Regions from separate parts of the Homo sapiens genome. Here region 1 is linked to region 2. The links are contacts of gene promoters, found by promoter capture Hi-C in blood cells and fetal thymus (Javierre and others, 2016). All regions are on one chromosome and are shown on one strand. The core of a region is centred on a gene start or on the middle of the fragment in contact, and the rest is flanking DNA. Distances in the headings are between cores, read along the strand shown.

Region 1 (2,700 bases), core at 111-2,610, 1.2 Mb before region 2:
AAAAGCGTCCTCCTCCAGAAGGTACCACCAAACCTTTAAAACCTTTAAAGGCTCCTCCAGTGTCAGACTGAAGTATGAAGGAGGAGCACACATTAGGTAAGTGTACTTTCTATTACCAAAAAGCAAGTGAGTGACAACAGCATCTTGGCTAAACAGCACCTAGACTCCACATGCAGTCAGCGTTATAAGGCAAACTGCTGGCACAAGCAGAAATAAGAAATGAGATGGGAAGATTGTATTCATAAGAACAGCTTTGCAACCCAAAGCTGCTTTCCTGAAACAGGCAGGAAGGACATTTAAAAAATATATTATGTGTATTTTTAGGACATAAAAGGTAAGAAAGACTAATGCAATAAACCTATGTACCCACCACCCAGCCTCAGAATTACTGAAGCGGCTCAATAAAACTAAATCCCAAATGAAAGATACTTCATGTACTACTCAGTCAAAGACCATTTACTGCCTAAAGAAATGATAAAAACATCAAGGTAGGTTAACTAAAAATATCCATTTGCCTAATTTCTTAACATCTGTGGCTTGCAACTGCTTTCAGCCTACAAAAACTTAGATGATCGAGTCTCAAATCTACATGTTCCTGTTAGCTGAACAACCCGGGACAACTTCTTACTCTCCTTTTCCTCACTGCTTCCTTAAACTCGATTGTTTTAACAAGGTTTTTCTAGTAGGCCTTTTCCCTTTGTGCTAGCCTGCTCACATCTCTAACCTAAGATGCTCTGGAAATGTGTGGCATTCCGTATGAATTCTAAAGCTCCTCTCTGCCCCTGGAACTTTTGGAGAAAGGTTCCTCGGTTTATAGTGCTTTGCTAAATAAACTCACCACAATTTTTAGAAGCCCTTTTTTGTTGTTGTTCGAAGAAGTGATTACATTATAGGAAGTGATCTGCTTCTTAGACCGAACATCTAAGAGACAGTTCACAAATCTTAAGTTTCCACATGAGTGAATTATAACCATGATTTCACCAGAAAAAAAAAAAAATTAAACTGGAACCCCTTCATTTACTAAATGGGCCAGTCAGCCTAAATATTACTGCATGTTTTTCCAAAACCAAAGTTTCAATCTCATCTACAGAATTTCAGATGTTTACTGACCACTGATATATTTAAGGCAATAAAATGAGGCAAAGAATGGAAAATTGTAACTTGTATGAGTTTTAATGCACATAATAAACAGAGCTTAGATTCTGTTGCTCTACATTTGATTTTTCATCATTTAAAATTCCAAACCCGCCACACTGATAGCTGTCATTTTAAAACAATGATTCATGGACAAACTATAAAGCCATTAAGTGGCTTTTCAGAGCCTCCGATTTTGCACAAAGTTAAAAGTCACTTGTAGGGATTTTAGAAATTGCTGATAGTAAATTGGCTCTAGAATCACAACAAAAATTCAAGAACCACAAGTTAAACAAAAAAAAGATATTCAGAAAAATGAGAGTAAAAGTTGATTAAGATATTCATCAAGGGGCCAGGTGTGGTGGCTCATGCCTATAATACCAGTACTTTGGGAGGCCGAGACATTCAGGTCACTTGAGCCCAGGAGTTTGAAACCACCCTGGGCAACAGAGTGAGACCCCCTGTCTACAAAAATGCAAAAATTAGCTGGGTGTGGTGGCGCATGCCTGTAGTCCCAGCTACTCAGGAGGCTGAGGCAGGAGGATTGCTTCAGCTCAGGAGGCGGCGGTTGCAGAGAGTCAAGATTGTGCCACCGCACTCCACCCTGGGCGACAAAGACCCTGTCTCAAAAAAAAAAAAAAAAGGGAAAATACCCATGTGGGCTCCTCCATGGGCACTGACACAGCCCCACATCCCTCAATTTCCCTCATTGGTTTTACTGTTCCCCATGGCACTTACAGAGGAAAAATTAATACTATGTATTTGTTCTCTTCCATAGGGCAAGATGATTTTGGTCTTTTTTACTCACCAATACATCTCCAGTGCTTAGCAGATCTACTGAATCCACTATTTAGGAAAAGCCGCATTTCAGCATTCTGGTGGGTGACATGACATTTAATTGTCCTAATATATGAAAACTTCAGGCTAAGAGTTACAGCTAAAATTATCTGTGGATTTCTATTATCCACCTACACTTAATTTCCCTTAGTTGCCCAAGGGCTCCTGCCCTCTCCTTCCCTCATCCCTTCAGCTTAAGTTGTAGATTATGGTCTGTACTATTTCTACCTCTTGAACTTCCTTCGGTTGCACAGGTGACTGCCCCTCCTTCAGAATGGCTTCCCTTGGCTTCTGCAGTGAGCTTTGTTTCTCACTCCTCGTAGGACCCTCCACCTGCATGCCTCCTGTCGCCCATTCCCATGGCCTCAATCCCCCACATGACGAAAGCTGCCGGAGCTGTGCCCATCCTTGCCATAATTCCTGTTGTATACCTAGTGGTCTTCCAGGGCACTCCACTTGAGTGTACCAAGGCCTTTCAAATACAGCATTTCCAAGACCAACCATTTCCTCCTTAATTAAACTGTCCCTCCCCCCATGTATCTTCCCAGTGAAAGAGCCATCAAATATCACTCAGCTCAACACCTACGTCTACCACCTAGTCACCAGTCAAGGCAATTCATAAAATCAAACCAGACAAAAAAAAAAAAAAAACACCTGAAGTTCAAGAGGTTTACTGTACAACAGGCAGGTAGAAATGTATTATGCATCTGAAAATAAGACCATGTTGTA
Region 2 (2,753 bases), core at 88-2,587:
CCCCGCAACAGAGGAACGGAATCAGCATGAGAAGTTTCCTCATCTCCCTGTCCCATAACTTCACCCTTCACTCTTCCACCAATCAAGGATCTCCACACTTCAGCAAAAACATGAGGTCCAAACTCCTGAAGGAGATGGATTTGAGGTTTCCTCTCTTTTCCCATCTCCTCGTTCAGCGGCCCTGCAACTGAAACTCTTTCTCTGCTGCAACCCACTGTCTGAGTGTATTGACTTATCGAGCACACTGAGCAACAGACCTATTACAGTTACACAAAGAGATGTCAGAAGAGAAACGGTGTTTGATCTGAATGAAAGACATATAAAGGGAAGTTAAGTCCAATTATCGATGTCAGGCTGCGACTTCTGTGCTAAATTTTTTTGGAAGTTAATGGGGAACTACTGAAAACGTCTATGCAGGTCAAGTGAAGCAATCAAAGTTGCAGTAGAAAAGTAGTGTTGGGGCTGAGACTCAGGAAATCTGAGGTTTTAGGCCATTTGGAACCAGTAACTATGTGACCTTGGAGAAGTAACTCATTATCTGGCCCTTATTTAAGATTAGGATAAACGAGAGGAGTTTGGCAACCAGTACAGTTAGTCAGGCGCCAGGCACCCAAGTATTCACATGCATTGTCTTTTAATTCTCTTTTAAGCCAGGCGAGGTAGGTACTATTACTACCTCCACTTTAAAACAGGAAGTAAGGCAGAGAGCGGTTCCGTCTTTTGCACGGTAGACAGGAGAAAAGAGGACCCCTAGATAGGTTTGAGTTAGAAGACTTCAAAGGATTCTTGTTGCTCTAGGAGCCTACAATGGCTCCAGCAGCGGCTGAGCGGGGAAAGGCTGGAAGTGACCAGTAAAGAGAGAAAACTTAAAATCATGCAAAGAAAGAGCACATTCACTGCGGTCTAAGACATCACAGAAAGTTGGCAAGTCCTTTGGGCCACGGACTCGCCGAGTGACCTTTAGCCAAGTCTCGTCCCTCCTATCAGGTTCCTGCTCGAAGGTCTGCAAGACTCGCTGGCCCGAGGCGACCTCTTTTCGGCCTCCTCCACCCAGCCCGGCACCCTTGGCACCCTCTCTCCCGGTGAACCCTGGGCGCAGCCACGAGAGCGTCTCCCCGCGGCGCCCGTCTGCCCTGCTGGCCCAGAGGCCTCGCAGCCCGCGGGTCGCTGGGCCTCTTACCCGGGCGTGCACAGTCCCCATGGTTCCCTCTCCAGCCGCTGCCTCGCAGAGCTGCCCGGGCGGGACAGAGCGTCTGCTGCTGAGGGCAGAAGGCGGGTCCGCGGTGGCGGAGCTGCAGGTCAAGGCAACTCCCACAAACCCCCGGACGCGGAACACTGGGGGCGGCCATGATTCCCCGCCTTCTCCGCGCCCCCTGGCTCGCGATGCCTTCGCTCATTGGTCCTTATGCGCCTGTGACCCGGATGTTCACACGGCCGCGGAGGACGTTCTGACTGCGCAAGCGAAGAGCGTTCACTGACATCCGCGAAGCTGCTGGCGCGTGGACTGTGTGGGGAGGGCGCGTGGGGTGAAGGTGGGTCTGCGAGAGGGTCCGCTGGGAGGCTGGCGTCTGGCGTTGGCGCCTGAAAGAGATCAGACCAGCTGTTGGGTGTCACTCAAGTCCTGCTGCTCTTAGCCCTCCTAGCACCCCCGACCCGAGGGTGCTGTGCTTGTGCCCACGCGCCGGTGAAGCCCCGAGACTCAGCGGGGAGACCCCGGGTCCGGCCACCCCCGAGCTGCAGTAGTCGGGTCTCACCGGCATCTGCTACACAAACCCGGATTGGTGCCCTGGCTCCTTTCGTTCAAGTCATTGGAACCCCCACTCAAAATCGTCAAAATGAAGACGATGGTCGTGTCTCCTTCTTGGGGGTTGGATTAAAAGGGCCTAATGTGAGAGACGGAAAGCAAAGCTCCCGGCACCGGGCCGGGCACACGGTGGGCGCTAGATAATGACCGCTATTCACTCAACTGCAGCCAGTAATTATGGGCGAGGGCCATCTAGGTGCTTGCATGAGAACCAGTCATATCGGTGAAGAAGACGGCCATGGGCTTAGGTTTTGGTGGCAAAACAGCTCCCCTGCCCCAAAAAAGAAAAGAGAATAGAAAAGAAAAAGGCATAATAAATATCAGCCACACATTGTGATAAGTATATTGAAAGAAACGAGACAGAATAAGAAAAGAGGAAGCTTCAGTATCCTGTCACGTTGCCACTCCCTTCTGATAACAGAAGCATCTTTTCTTCTGTCCCCTTACTCCCTCCCAGAAACCCTGACACCCTTTCCATTTAAATAGCAGCACCCTAGGCCTCCAACATCCCTGAGCTAAATATTCAAGTCCACATGTCCCTTCTTGCCTGGAAAGAGACAGAACCCAGCACCAGCCAGGCCCCTGCCCTTCCCTCACTCTCAGTTCCCTGAGCCTCAATTCCTTATCTGTAAAATGGAAATGATAGCCTAAGGCATAAGGTCTGAGGACCTCATGAGATCAAGCATGGGGCCTGGCACTCTGTAAACATCGAATCAACCAGATTTTCTTTGCCCAAACAGCCCTCTTTTCTTACACTTTCTTCCTCGTTATTCTTCTGAGTATGCCACTTGTAAAGGATAAGCCATGAGGTTGCCCTGCAGAGTGCAAGATGGTTGCAATATTTGAGAGCCTATTGTGTGTGAGGCCCTGGAGGATGGCAGAGGGAACAGGAGGAAAACAAAGTCACATGCTTTACCCTCAAACAAAGGGCTGTCTGCGATAGTTACAA

Evidence for each region. Contacts are between HindIII fragments. The CHiCAGO score rates a contact against its expected background, and 5 or more counts as called.
Region 1: a fragment that was not itself captured here is called in contact with the fragment with the promoter of SAMM50 in region 2 in 1 of 17 cell types (non-activated CD4 T cells); the score reaches 5.1 in non-activated CD4 T cells.

Annotation. Positions count from the first base shown.
Region 1 is chr22:45,173,261-45,175,960 of GRCh38, reverse strand. It overlaps NUP50 (nucleoporin 50), which reads right to left. Exons shown (of 8, transcript NM_007172.4): 4 at 1-67. Among named protein-coding and RNA genes, the nearest start is that of NUP50, 11 kb to the right of the region's middle. The HindIII fragment of the contact is 4,030 bases long and covers 1-2,700 here.
Region 2 is chr22:43,954,026-43,956,778 of GRCh38, reverse strand. It overlaps SAMM50 (SAMM50 sorting and assembly machinery component), which reads right to left and starts at 1,337. Exons shown (of 15, transcript NM_015380.5): 1 at 1,181-1,337. The coding sequence starts at 1,201. RefSeq lists enhancers at 593-802, 608-1,359, 1,483-1,562, 1,643-1,692, 1,360-2,112 and a silencer at 1,245-1,519. The HindIII fragment of the contact is 6,277 bases long and covers 1-2,186 here.